Linked DNA regions of Homo sapiens: regions 2, 3, 4 and 5 are each linked to region 1. Evidence: promoter capture Hi-C in 16 types of primary human blood cells and fetal thymus (Javierre and others, 2016). All regions are on one chromosome and are shown on one strand. Each heading gives the region's core, a stretch centred on a gene start or on the middle of the fragment in contact. The rest is flanking DNA. Distances are from core to core; before and after follow the strand shown.

Region 1 (2,700 bases), core at 28-2,527:
AGATACAACCATTCTCCCAAGTGATGCGATGACGAGTATGTGCGTGACTCTGGAGGGAAAGGGTCTACATCTGTCTCTGCTTGTGCCTCGGATGGGTTTTACAGTAGACGTACCACCGACCCCGCCTCTTCACCAGGTAACAGTCCTTGCAGCGCTTCTTAAGGACAGTCTTGTTTTTGAACCCCAGCGCAGGCAGCAGATGGGGCAGGAGGCCGGGTGAGAGAAGTGAGCGCACTGCTGCCCCGGGTTCCACAGCCACGGGGGCTGCACCTCGAATGGATCCAAATAGAAATGTGGAGAGGGCTCGAGGCTTCACCGTGTGACGACTGAGATAGAGCAGAGGGTTCACCATTTTCCTTATAAAAAGATTTGCCATGTTGTGGTGAATCTATGGGAGAGAGAAAAAAAGGAGTTATAGCTTCTCCTGCACTTCCACCTGCTCTTTAAGGCTTCCTTTTCTCTGTTTCACTGAGGCTTGGGAAGGCAGGGACCTCGGGGACTGAGGGTGTTCCCATACCAGCTGCAGCCTCGACCTGAGCTTGAACACTGCCTTAATCAGCCAAGTGTGCCAGGAGAATAAGGGGCAGTGGACGGTGGCTTCCTTCCCTTTCCCGCCTGCTGCAAGTGTAGGTGAGTGTGCAAAGCCCTGCGATGTTGAGGAGCCGCTCACTTGGCTGGGAGGGAGCTTAAACTTAGGCCGCATCCCTTTCCAAACAGACACCAGGTCAAGGACGGTTCAACTGATGAGCTCCTCCCTCCAACTCTTCCCAGACCCAGGGGCCCTCCCTCGGGCCAGTTTCGGGACAGGCCCCCGCTCCGGAAGAGCACGGAACTCTGGCACCCCGGTCGCCCGCCCCTGCTTCCCCACGCGCCCCGGCCCTTAGGGTTCAGCGGCCCCGGCTGGGAAGAGCTGGGCCTGCAGGGCCCGGAGGACACTGCGGCACCGGAGCCGGCCCTGCGCGCGGGCTGTGAGGTCGCGTTCGGGAGCCGCCAGTTCTCCCGCCCCGGGGTCGCTGGACACCCCCTCCTGTCGCCAGGTCGGGCGCCCACGGTCGGACCCGCACCCCCCAACCCTGGCCCTCTGAGACCGCCAGGCCCCGGCCCACGCTCCTCTGACCGCAGCCCACTCGGGGAGACACGCCCGAGGGTCCCAAGGTGGCCGGCCCCACCCTCTCGCAGCCCCCACTCTCAAGACACCCGGGACCCCTGACCTGAGAAGACGGCTCCCTTACCCGGCCGCACGCTCTCACCCGGCGCCGACCCCTGCGTCTGCGCACTGGCACGCGGACGCTGCTGCCAGGAAGGAAGATGGCGGCGGGGGGGGGGGTCACGTGGCGTGCCCACGTCCAGTGCGGGGCGCAGAGACGCAGCAGCGAGTGCGCAGGCGCTGGAGTGCGACGTATCACTCCCCGACTGCGCGCACTCTGCGGGCCACCGGGATCGTCGTGCTGTTTGGAGCGCTCTCGGGAAAAAAAATGCAAAAACCAGGAACGAAAATGGATATCCGCAACGAAAAAGAAATTACAACCACTTAGGCCTTAGAAAAAACTGGCAAATACCAATGTCAAAACAAACTGAGAAAGAGGACATGTTTTTAAGTGGACAGGAGAAATGTAAACAGGCTCCGGGAAACGAGTGGAGACGGGCAGTAGTTTCAACTGGTTACGGCTGTTTTCCCCAACATTATGAAAAACTTCGGACATAGAGAAAAAGGGAAAGAACTGTACGGTGAACACCCATATACTTGCCACCTAGATTCTACCCTTAGCTCGCTTATCCCTGCCTTTTCAGGTATCTACCCGTAACTCCATTCGCCTTCCTTTTTGTGTGTGTCCGGGTGAGTTGCAGACGTGGCTGCGTCCACTCCGCGCTCCCTGCAGGCCCCAACGCTTCATCGCAGCGCCCACTTTTTCCACCTGACCCGGCGAACACCGGGCGGGCCGCTGGAGTTTATCAGCTCCAGGACAAATCTGCCTCTGACCACCACGTTTGCTGGGACATCTTTGGGACCGGAGGTTTTCATGTGCATTCTTGTTTCTCATGCCTTTCCTCCTCTTTATCATCTTCCCCGCCACTCATCCATCTCTAGTGTTTTGTTCTTGGAGTCACGTGGTCCTCAGGCTCTGACCACAGCAAAAGAAAAGCTGGATGCTGGAGCTTAAGCTGGGATTTATACCCAAGTCAACTCTAAGCAAAACGGGCCTTTTTAGAGGCTGTATTTGCATGCTGTAAAATCAGTCGGTGTACTAGGCTTTGTTGCAGAAATCCCCAATATACGTTTCCTCTGCGGCTCCCCGTAACCACACACAGGAACGCTTGCCTTGAACGAGGAGAATGCACTTCCAGTCTCGTCTGCTAAGCAGTTGACTCCTTCACCCAATAATTTTGATATTTAAATGTCTCATGATTATCGGTTACCATAAGAATATAAACAATGTATTTTCAGTTTACATCCTCCCCTGCCTGTCCGCTAAATAAGAACCACTGGGTACTCCTAATCGCTGAAGGTTTCGCACACCATTGCCTGCCTCATCAGGGCCCTAGCTCTAGCCTGCGGCTGCAACTGCATGAGGCTGCACCTGCCGGCGCAACGGGGCCGCTTAACTTTTAGGCCATTGATGAAAAGTCAAACAAGCGCACAGTACTCGGTGTAATCAGGGGCATTTTTAGCGAGATACCTGGGATGAAAACGGGTGACCA
Region 2 (2,700 bases), core at 102-2,601, 1.5 Mb before region 1:
GGAGGTTGCAGTGAGCCAAGAGTGCGCCATTGCACTCCAGCCTGGGCAACAAGAGCGAGATTCTGTCTCAAAAAAAAAAAAAGAGTTGTCAAATTGCCACCCCAATGCTGTGGTTCTCTAACCTGTGTAACAGGATCACCTGGAGGGACCCTACCCGAGACCTTCCGATTCAGTCCTGGGGGAACCCTACCCCAGATCTTCCGATTCAGTCCTGGGGGGACCCTACCCCAGATCTTCCGATTCAGTCCTGGGGGAACCCCACCCCAGACCTTCCGATTCAGTCCTGGAGGGACCCTACCCCAGATCTTCCGGTTCAGTCCTGGTTCGGCCTGAGAATTTGCATTTCTAACATGTCCAGGGACCACAGTTTGAAAACCTCCACAGCTGACATGTAATGGGATGACTTGGTCCAATAAATGAAGGAAAAGTAACAGGTGGCAACCTCAGGCAGCTTCATCCCAACCAGTAAGAAAGTAAATCCTTTTGTAAACTAAGAGGAAGTATTAATATGGGCGTTTGAGCAAACATTTAAGTGTTAGGACAAAGAATTAAAAACTAGCACAGGCACCCCTGAAGCATGATAGGATGGCAACAGAAGGGCTGATTTAGTTTCCAAGAAATAACTGACAGGCAGTGTTGTGTGTGTGTCTACTGCTTAGGAACCCAAAACAAACCTTCAGACCATTTTCATGAGTACTGAGACCAGGAAAACCACTGGGCAGTGGGTGGTCTGGAAATGTAAATGTTTATAGTACTCCATGGAGTACTATATGAGTCATGGAACGATGTTTCATATTGAAAATGTTTTATAAATGTGGGTTTCAAGGTTTTAAAGTGAACCCATGTGTGTGAGGAGAAAGGACACACCAAAGAAGTAAAATAATTGGGTCAATATAAAAAGAAAGTAGAATATTGCCCAGAGAGGAGATGTGGATAATTCCTAACACGGATCAAAGGTGAGCTGTGTCTAAGACAGTCAGACCTGCACCGTCCCGTGCAGTAGACACCGTGGCCGCTGTGTCTGAGATATTCAGACCCTCGCCGTCCCGTGCAGTAGACACGGTGGCCGCTGTCTGTAAGATATTCAGACCCTCGCCGTCCCGTGCAGTAGACACGGTGGCCGCTGTGTCTAAAATATTCAGTCCCGTGCAGTAGACACGGTGGCCGCTGTGTCTAAGATATTCAGACCTGCACCATCCTGAGCAGTAGCCACAGTGGCAAGTAGCCTCTGCACTGGACAGTGCAGCTACAGAATGATGCTATCACTAGAAAGTTCCATCAGCCAGCACTGATGCAGACCTTTGCAAATGCCCCTCACACTGAATAGCACCTAGCTGATAGATTGTCCACTACTCAGTGAAAAGCCTGTGTTAAAAGCAGTATTTGGTAGAAAAGCAAAAAAGGGGAAAAAATTAAAAGTGGTAAGTCATTGTCTTCCTTACTGAATTCTAGCAGAAGAATGTTGGAAGGAAGATGGGAGTCACGGGAGAAAGTATCATTGTCCCAGGACAGGAGGGGGTGCCAGGCATGGTTGGCTCTGTCCCTGGAATTCTATGGCGGGAATCTGGAAAAAGGAAAAGTGACTGGAGAAGAAAAGATTCTGTGTGCAAATGTCATGATGCAGCCATCAGTCATCCTGAGAAAATAAGCGAACAAAGTGGCTTCAGATGGATGCTGTTGGATACATGTACAGATACAATGTACACTTGCATATGCTTGTTCACACAAAGGACAGGATGGTTATCTGTTCATTTAACAAATACTTGTTGAGGGCCTATATGTGCCAAAGACATCAGATGCATAAGAGGGTGCACTATGGAAAGCCTCAGGAACACAAGTGCCCAGAAACATTTAGAAAAATTCTAATGAAAACAGAAAAGGCATTTTCAAATTAGCTGAGAGAAACGAGACCAAAGGAAAGACTGACCCAGTATTTGGATACATTATGTGATGAACCTTAATGCAGGGAGGAAAGTGTTATCTTTCAGTTAATTTCTCAACTTCTGGAGAGCTTAGAACAGACCTGGCTAGGAGGAAATTGAATCTGAGGCAGATGAGGAGATAGTGGTGCCTTGATGCTTCCAGTGATTGGGTCAGCAGAACCAGGGGTGGGAGATGATCTCTCTTTTTGTTGGCAGATGGTGGTCTCTGCTGTAGCTTTGTCCCCTGGTGACGGGACTCAGGCAGCAACCCCCATCATTGGCAATACCCCCACCTCTGAGAATGTGGAGAGGACTTGTGAAGACAATGTTGTCCCAAGCAGCACAGCCCAGGTACTGACAGGATTCAGAGCTAGAGGTTTCTTAGAGGTCAGGGTTGTAGAAGCAGCAGGGACTGCAGCTGCATAGTTTGTGTATGTAACAGGCTAGTATCTCTTGTTCTAGACTCATCCATTTGTACATTCATATGAGTATGCACGCAGGGTGTTTTTTCTTTCTTTTTTTTTTTTTGAGACGGAGTCTCACTCTGTTGCCCAGGCTGGAGTGCCTGGTGCAATCTCGGCTCACTGCAAGCTCCGCCTCCCGGGTTCACGCCATTCTCCTGCCTCAGCCTCCCAAGTAGCTGGGATTACAGGCACCTGCCACCACGTCTGGCTAATTTTTTGTATTTTTAGTAGAGACGAGGTTTCACCATGTTAGCCAGGATGGTCTTGATCCACCCGCCTCAGCCTCCCAAAGTGCTGGAATTACAGCTGTGAGC
Region 3 (2,700 bases), core at 50-2,549, 1.6 Mb before region 1:
AGCCAAATTCCAAACACACATTAGGTAACAACTGGATACAACACACACACATTAGGTAACAACTGCATACAACACACACACATTAGGTAACAACTGCATACAACAAACACACATTAGGTAACAACTGCATACAACAAACACACATTAAGTAACAACTGGATACAAGAAACACTTGGTATTTCCCCTTTATGGAGTGAGAGAGATCTTTAAAATATAAACCCTTGATAATATAATATTACTACTTCCTATTACCTGTTATGCAGTTCTACACATTATCTGACAAATTCTTAATGTAATCTGGTGACAGAGAAAAATAATTTGAGGAGAAAGTATTTAGGGAGTGATGAAACAGACAGAAAATTACTTGTGGTAAGGACCAGTATTGTATTTGACTTTTTAAAAAACCATTTTTACCCTGGAGCTAAAATACGAGGTTATACTGTTCTGCTTAATACAATACTGGCAGCCTAAAAATGCTTCAAGAAACCATATCCCCAACAGCGGCAGAGCATCGGGAGGAGACCCTCTGTCTCTGAGGCTTCGGTGCACTTCTGCTCAGACGGTGGCGGGAGTGGAGGTCGCTGCTGAAGGGTGACGGTGTGGCCATGACACGGGCAGCACGGGAACGGAAGACGCCGGAGACCCAGAAGGCGCATGACTGCCTGGCCTCGAGTCACTAAAAGCAGTTTGATTTCACTCTTGTCTTACTTTTCTAGTATGGCTTCCTCTACTCTCTTAAACTTCTTCAGTTCGACAACGAGTTCCCAGTATTTGAGATAGAGCCACATGAGTCTGCCATTCTGGCGTTTGTTGGTGTTCCAGACATCACCACAGTATGTATCATGCTGAAATATGTCGGTGAGACCGGCTGCCATCTCTAGGTCAGCGGCGACGGGGTCGACGGACGCTCGCACCAGTAAGCTCTTCTCTATCTCCAGCCGCTTGCTGCGAGGAAGAAACAGACTGCAGTAGATATTCTGTCTTTCTGTGAGAACAGCTTCAAATTCTTTCAGCAAAAGCCTGGCTCTCCTTTGCCAGTTTTCTTCCCTTTGCAGGCAGCTCAAATACGCACTTCTCAAAGGCTGCACCTGTCTTTTTTCTTGCATCACCTGGGCCCGTTCCTGTTCCAGAAGCTTCTTTTCTTCTACCAACTTGCGTCCCTGAGAGATAAGGGCTTCTCGGTAACTAGCAGTTCTGTTTTGTTCCTTTTCGAGTTCCAAGGACAACTGAGCGACAGCACGCCGATTTTCTGAGATCATGGCGTGGTACTTGGCTTCCAGATCCTGTTGAAAAGCAGCAGTTCTCCGACGGTAGGCTTCTCTCTCTTTTTCTACTTCTTTCTGGGACTCCCTAGACCAAATCCAACCTGACATGAATGAAGAAAAATACACATAATGAAAAAGTTAGGGCTGAAGTTCTATAATCCTCACTTAAATCATAAGGCAGCTAAGGATAGTGTTTCAGTAAAAGCTTAAGACCTCGGCTGTACCAAGAAGATCACTTCTACGTGAAAATGTGTAACAGGCCAAGTTCTTATCTGAAAACCAGGTAAGGGCTGGGTGACCAAAAGACCCTAACCCTAGCCCTTTCCGTCTTCTAACTGTTTGTTGCTAAGAAGATCTACCACCATTTGCCTGCTCCGGCTCTAGTACAATTGGCAAAGTTTAAAATGTTTGGGTCGACTTCAACTACCGTTGGCCAGGTTCTTATAAAAGTTGTATTTAGCTTTGCCCGGTGGCGACTAGTAAACGGCCTGAGTTTGAGACACTGCTTATGTTCTGATAAGGACACATAAAAATAAAGTGGGTTAAGAAGTTCAGCCTCAAGACACAGTGGGCCTCTTTCCTCAAACTGGAGACTGCTGGAATCTCACGAAAACGGGACGAAGATTGCTGGGAGGCTGGAGGGGGCACTGCCCGGCTCTGCCCCCTACACCAAGGAGCAGCAGGGCTGGCCTGCACTGCAGAGAAATCCAGCGCCTCTAAGACCGGATGACTCACACAGCCTGCTGGCCAGCAGGCACCTGGCTCCGTATAGAGCCACCAACCCTTTGTCCATCCCACAAGTAAGAGTTGGATGTGTTTCAACAATAAAAAAAGACCGTGTGATAACAGTTCCATCCACATTCCGAACTGATGCTGCTCAATAATTTCATGCATGTTGGAGCAACTGCATGCTAAGTCTTAGTTTTCCAAACAGCGACGTGTTCTGCTTGTACATTCTAAAAGCAGCACGGAGTTGAGTCTTCTGGAAAACAGAACTGTTTGGCAAATTTTCAAAGCCCAAGGCCCCAAAAGCCACTGAGAGCAGCAGTCTGGGTTCCCTCGTGTGCTTCTATCCTGTAACCCCTCCCCTACTAACTGTGGGACTCCCTCGTCTGCAGCCCCTTCTAGAACCACTGGAGTTTCTATCAACTTTAATGGTTCTCTTCCTCCTCCTGCTGCCTCCCCCAACCCAGGTGGTGTCCTTGACATTCAATTATTTTCTCCCGGGTCATTAATGGTCACCTTTTTCTTCCAGGTCATTAATGGTCACCTTTGCTTTTCTCCCGGGTCATGAATGACCTTTGTGGGAGCAATTCCATAACAGCAAGATTTCCATTAGCCTGAAAGCCAGTCCCCCTTGGATATGCTGTTGACACTTCACTGAGTAAGCACAAAACCAAACTCATCCTTCCTCAACCAAAAATAGCTGCTAGTC
Region 4 (2,700 bases), core at 166-2,665, 1.2 Mb before region 1:
CGAGCCCGTTTCTGAACACCCTGTGAAGTTGGTGAGAATTCAGGTGCCTATCGGCCGGGCTCCACCTGTGCACCAGGTGTGGCCGCCTCACTGTGACTTCAAAGGTCCCCGGGGAGGAAGGAGGCTCCCAGCTGCACACAGGTGAGTCAGTCCCATTGTTCCGTGTGTCTGAAAAATCAATCGGGTCCAAAGTAAAAATATTTATTTAATGAGCAGAAATGTATGGCCGATCGGTTTTTAAAGGATATTGCTTCCTGCTCCTTGATACTGAAAAGGGGCGTTAGAAGAAATTCATTTGCAGGGATTGAGTTCTGGAAATGGCCATTCTAGGTGAAATAAGGACAGAAAATAGCACAGCACCCGCCAAAGACAGCTCATTCTCTTCCTTGGGGTGCTGGGGGACACGGGCGCCCCTCGGGGGCAGGAGGATCCCAGCGGGAGGACACTGGGCACTGCGTGAAGTCTCCCCTGGGAGCCCCAGTGAGGGGCAGGTGATGGCCCCGAGTGTCCCTGGGTCTCCCAAACGAACGTCTGGGCTTCTCTGGGAGGAGGACTCCACCCTGCAGAAGAGAAGGGTCTGGGTCAGAACCCAGTGAGTCCGGGGCTCCCTCCGCCTCCTTTGCTCCCTGTGAGATGGGCACGGAGAATGAGTCCCTCCGTGGACGTGGACGCCTGGTGGTTCTCGGCCGAGATCGCACCCTCGTGGCACCTGCCGGGGACCGCCCAGCTCCTGCAGCTGCGGTCTCTGGAGAGCACCGCCGGGATCCCCACGGCTCGAGAACCCGCGGTGCGTTTTGTAGGGTCAGCATTTGCGTACTGGGTCTGCTGCACTCCCTTCCTCGCGCGGCTCCCCGTTCAGCTCCCTGCAGGCGTCGGGACCTTGCTGCGCGGCTCCTCTTCCAAAACCCACAAGGTTCTGAGTTCCTGGGGCTTTGTCCCCCCAGTCTGTGGCCGCCGCAGGGCCTCCTCCTGGACCAGCCCGAAGGGCACATGGGGATGGCGCCTCAGGGCTCCGGTAGCGAAGGCCACACAGAAGTCCCGAGGACCCTGGCAGCGGCCGTCTCCTGCGTCTTGGTCCCTGAGGACCCTGGGCCTTCCTGGCAGTGGAGGCTGGTGTCTCTCACTCTCTCCAGGTGCAGGCCAGCGCTCAGCTAAATGCCTTCAGAGCTCCGGCTGAGATGTGCAGCACCCGCCACCGTCAGTCTTCGTGTGTTGGGGCGTGATGGGGATGGTGTCTCAGTCCTATGTTCTCGTGCTGCTGTGTTTGGGATGTGTCAGTTTCCCATGACTGCTGGAACAAGCTACCCCAGCCTTAGGGGCTCAGAACAACACGCAGGACTCTCAGGCTTCTGGAACACGGCCCCCACTCCCTCCCGAGGCTCTGGGCCAGGATCCTCCCGTCGCCTCCAGCTTCTGCTGTATCGCTCCATGGCCGGCTCCTCTGTGCCTCTTCTCTCTGTGTCTCTCTTCTGTCTCTTAGAAGGACATTGGTGAATGCATTTAGACCCCCAGGCCCCACCCCCCGATAACCCAGGAAAAGCACCTCTTAAGATCCCTATGTTTATCACAGCTTTTGCCTCAGAGGTGACATTCGAAGCGCTGGGGTTTTGCACAGATTTTGGGGGAGGTCTTAATCAGCTCAGGTGGCCATAGCAGAAAACCACACACGGGCAACCCGAGCAGCAGACATAGGTTTGTTGAGCAGCAGACACAGGAAGCTCCCACCACTCTGGGGTGGAAGCCGGAGATCCTGGCACCAGCTGACTGGCCTCCTAGTGAGGGCCCTTCCTGGTTTCCCGGTGCGACAGAGAAAGGGGAGGGCAGCCCTCTCCTATGAGGGCACTGATCCCACTGGGAGGACCCCACTCCACACACCGCAGCACTGGGGTTGGGGTTCCACCCGTGACTCCTGCAGGAGCACAAACGTGCAGCCAATAGACCACATGCCTCTGGGCAGCAAAGGTCCCCTGTCACCTGCACTGCATTCTCCCGGTGCTGCCTCTGAGGACAAGGCTGGCTCCAGCGGGCTCAGTGCTGACTACCAGGATGCAGGAGGCCTGCCCGCTCGCCATAGCTGCGAAGCCGGCTGATTACATTTCAGGCTTTTGTTTATTCCCCATCCCAACCCGCTCCTTCATCCACACAGACTGCTCGGACCTGGACTCAGGCCAGGCTGGACACCAGGCAGACGGAGGGACGTCCCCAGCAGCCAGCTCCCTCTGTCCGAGCAGACGGAGGGACGTCCCCAGCAGCCAGCTCCCTGTGTCCAAACAGACGGAGGGACGTCCCTAGCAGCCAGCTCCCTCTGTCTGAGCAGATGGAGGGACGTCCCCAGCAGCCGGCTCCCTCTGTCCTAGCCCTGGGAAGGTGGGGTCCTCCAGAGCTCCCCTCCGCAGCCCCAGCCACTCCCATGCTCCAGCTCCTGCCCCCTCCCGGGGCTCTATCTCCCCACAGAGAAAGGGGGTCCCTCCGCTGGGCAGGCACAGCCTCCTTCCAGGCCTTGTTACGGGCACCTGCACACGTGCCTGTGCCACCTAAGCTGTGCCCGCGCCACCTAAGCTCTGCCCGCCACCTCGGCAGATGCCAGGGTCCACAGGAAGGCATTGGGTGCAACAGTCACTCAGCTGTTGTGTTTTCTTTCTCTTAGCCACAGTCTAGTCCTAGCAGCAGTGACCTTGGTTTGGAGCCCGGGTTGGGGAC
Region 5 (2,700 bases), core at 118-2,617, 1.4 Mb before region 1:
GTGGACGCCCTCTCTGTTGTTGGCCCGCGGGTGAGGGACCCACCACCCCTAGGGACCCACCACCCCGCCGCACTGTGCATTCTGCCTCCTGTGTGGACGCCCTCTCTGTTGTCAGTGGCTTTGAGGTGTCAGTGCTTACTTAGATGCTGGTTTAATGCTGGACCCATTTGTTAAACGCACCTTCACTTTGTCAAAACCCAGGTTTGGTTGGCAGGACTGGGTCTTCTGCCCAATGCCAGGTGCCTGCGCCTCTCAGTGGCCTGGTTCTTGGACAGTTTGCCCCCATGTGGCAGGGATAGGGATAAGGATCTCCTCTCAGTACTGGAAGAGAACAGCCAACCATCTGAGCCCAGAGTCACAGATCCATCGTGGCCCCCTATGACCCCCAAGCCCTACCGAGGGGGCACTCACTCTCTGCTTAGCCAGGGGGCGTCTTTCAAAAGGTGACCTCCATGCTGTGCTGTCGTGGGTGTGAGACGTGCTCATGGCCTTCCACTGCCATCTCTCCCTTATCTGATGCCTAAAGTCACGATGGGGACAGAGCTACCCAGGGGCCAGCCATGGGGTGACCAGCCACCTGAGGGTCAGTCACCTGTGGAGAGCAGGCACCTGTGAAGACCAGGCACCTGAGGACTGGCGCCTACTTCCCACTTTGGCCCTACACTGGCACAGAGCCCCTCTTTATTCATTTCTCATGCTGAGCATGGCACACTTCTGGCCTCTGGGCATTTATGGATTTAAGACCAGGATGGTATTTCAGAAGCTTCCCACTTCCTTCCTATTCTAACCGAGTGCCCAGCTCCTTTGCTGATCATGGAAAGACCCTTAATAATTAGGCCTGCAGGCCAGGCGCAGTGGCTCATGCCTATAATCCCAGCACTTTAGGAGGTCAAGGTAGGAGGATCGCTTAAGCCCAGGAGTTCAAGACCAGCCTGGGCAACACAGGAAGAATGTGTCTCTACAAAAAATAATTAAAAATCAGATCTGCTGTATCCCTGAAAAAGTCTCAATCAACATGCATGTTCCACTCTTGGAGTTCCCTGTTCTGAGGGCCAGCCACGTCCTGTGTCCTGGAGCTTAGCCCTCAGCAGCTCCCTTCAGCCTGGGCGCCGCCTGGGTCCCAAACGTGGCAGCTGCTCTTCCAGTCTCGGGGCCGAGGAGGGCAGGGAGCTCAGTGACTGAGAGTCTTGTGTATCACATGTCTTGAGTGTCCTGGAGCCAACGGCTGTCACTGGGAAAAACACCAGGCCCCAAAGATCGAATCAGAGACGTGGCTGCGTGTTTGCGATTGTAGCCAGGCCCTTCAGTGTCATCAAAGGAGCACTGGGGCCTCCTTAAGCACAGACGGCAGCCCCTGCCCAGGAGGCTTCTTCACCACGTCCTGCCCTGCAGCCTCCCAGACCTTTAGATGCGCCCCTGCCCAAGGCCCTCCTGGTGACAGGTGCCAGATTGAGTGGTGGGTTGCTGCCAGGCAGGCCACGCTGTGTTGACGCTGCACTCAGCACGTGGGTGTTGGCTCTGCCGGTTTTGTGGTGTGGGGACCCTACAGGAGGCTGCGGCCCTGAGAGCCTGGGATCAGCGAGGTGTCCGACATCCCTTCCTCAACGGCAACAAAAACTCCCCAAGTCAGCACTTTGGTTATTTTATAGCCACAACCCTCTTGGAAAACAGTGGGGAAGACTATGGAACATAGAAAGTGTGGATGTATCACTTCTCTCTAAAATGTCATTGTTAGCACTAATTACAGGTTCATGTTTTTCTGTGTATGTAGCTTTTCCCTATATAGCTGAAAAAGTATTAAAGTCAAATATAAGGTGGGAATGGGATGGAAGGGAGGAGATCAATACAACTTATATTTTTGCAGTTTCTACTGGAAGAAAAAAGTTTTCAATACCTAGACCAACTTGTTGAATTTTTAAAACTTATGCACTATAAATGCAACTTTCTCTACTGCTTTCTCAGTGCCTTTAGGAAGCTTTCAAATTTTTTTGTACTGTGGTTTGTATTAAATTTGCAATATTGATGTAAAATACATGACATGCTAGTACATGTTTAACAAAAATTTAAATGTTTGCGGAAGTCTGCGTGATTTTCCAAAGTCACTTTATTTCCTTTAAAGAGTGTGCTGGTTAATCTACATTCTAAGACAGCCTTTCACCACTAAATATAAGGCAGCAATAAAAATAAAAACTCTAGAGCCGCAAGCCTCGTGAAGGAGGAGAAAATGCCTGCCATCTCCCTGCTCCTGACCAGTGGCATCTAGAGAGGGCCTAGGCCCCCCTCCCCTGTCACTGAGGGTCAGGGCCCCTCCTGGGTGCTCTCAGGACGTCCCAGACCTGACCCGTCCTGTAAGAAGTGAGGAGGGTAGAGCTGAGGGCACTGTGGGTCCGGGGCCATGCGGGGTCCACCCTGCCTGGCACAGGGCCTGCACGACAAGCCCATGGGAAGGGGGAAGGGCCCAGGCAGATTACGGCCAGACCCCTCAATGCCATCGAAAAAAGTGCTGGGGTCTCCTTAAGCACAAACGGCAGTCCAAGGCCCAGGGAGCTGCGCTTTTGTTTCCTTTCAGGCATCTTTAGAGCCTGCGCAGCCCCTGCCAGGCCTCCTTCGCACCCTGCAGCCCATCAGCAAACCCGTCCTGGTCACTCGTGTAAGACTCCCGTGTCCTCCCCCAGGACCAGGCCAGCCCTCCCATCTGTG

What was found. Contacts are between HindIII fragments. The CHiCAGO score rates a contact against its expected background, and 5 or more counts as called.
Region 2: a contact is called between a fragment that was not itself captured here and the fragment with the promoter of MRPL36 in region 1, in 2 of 17 cell types (neutrophils and monocytes). The highest score is 6.1, in neutrophils.
Region 3: a contact is called between a fragment that was not itself captured here and the fragment with the promoter of MRPL36 in region 1, in 1 of 17 cell types (total B cells). The highest score is 7.5, in total B cells.
Region 4: a fragment that was not itself captured here is called in contact with the fragment with the promoter of MRPL36 in region 1 in 1 of 17 cell types (neutrophils); the score reaches 6.2 in neutrophils.
Region 5: a contact is called between a fragment that was not itself captured here and the fragment with the promoter of MRPL36 in region 1, in 2 of 17 cell types (monocytes and neutrophils). The highest score is 8.4, in monocytes.

The regions. Positions count from the first base shown.
Region 1 is chr5:1,798,560-1,801,259 of GRCh38, forward strand. MRPL36 (mitochondrial ribosomal protein L36) reads right to left here and starts at 1,278. Exons shown (of 2, transcript NM_032479.4): 1 at 1,233-1,278; 2 at 1-388. The coding sequence starts at 376. The coding sequence ends at 65. RefSeq lists a silencer at 748-1,157 and enhancers at 2,238-2,287, 2,348-2,477, 2,657-2,700. The HindIII fragment of the contact is 7,489 bases long and covers 1-2,700 here.
Region 2 is chr5:265,752-268,451 of GRCh38, forward strand. It overlaps a transcript of SDHA not described here. Among named protein-coding and RNA genes, the nearest start is that of PDCD6-DT, 4.4 kb to the right of the region's middle. The HindIII fragment of the contact is 7,069 bases long and covers 1-2,700 here.
Region 3 is chr5:204,593-207,292 of GRCh38, forward strand. CCDC127 (coiled-coil domain containing 127) reads right to left here. Exons shown (of 3, transcript NM_145265.3): 3 at 1-1,366. The coding sequence ends at 705. Among named protein-coding and RNA genes, the nearest start is that of CCDC127, 12 kb to the right of the region's middle. The HindIII fragment of the contact is 337 bases long and covers 1,132-1,468 here.
Region 4 is chr5:601,370-604,069 of GRCh38, forward strand. CEP72-DT (CEP72 divergent transcript) reads right to left here. Exons shown (of 3, transcript NR_103444.1): 3 at 800-1,475. LOC105374608 (a long non-coding RNA gene) reads left to right here. Exons shown (of 8, transcript XR_007058672.1): 2 at 1-141; 3 at 2,648-2,700. Among named protein-coding and RNA genes, the nearest start is that of CEP72-DT, 9.5 kb to the right of the region's middle. RefSeq lists enhancers at 1,392-1,892, 1,893-2,393. The HindIII fragment of the contact is 3,558 bases long and covers 1-2,700 here.
Region 5 is chr5:436,224-438,923 of GRCh38, forward strand. AHRR (aryl hydrocarbon receptor repressor) reads left to right here. Exons shown (of 11, transcript NM_001377236.1): 11 at 1-2,062. It overlaps PDCD6-AHRR (PDCD6-AHRR readthrough (NMD candidate)), which reads left to right. Exons shown (of 13, transcript NR_165163.2): 13 at 1-2,062. Among named protein-coding and RNA genes, the nearest start is that of EXOC3-AS1, 5.6 kb to the right of the region's middle. The HindIII fragment of the contact is 1,212 bases long and covers 762-1,973 here.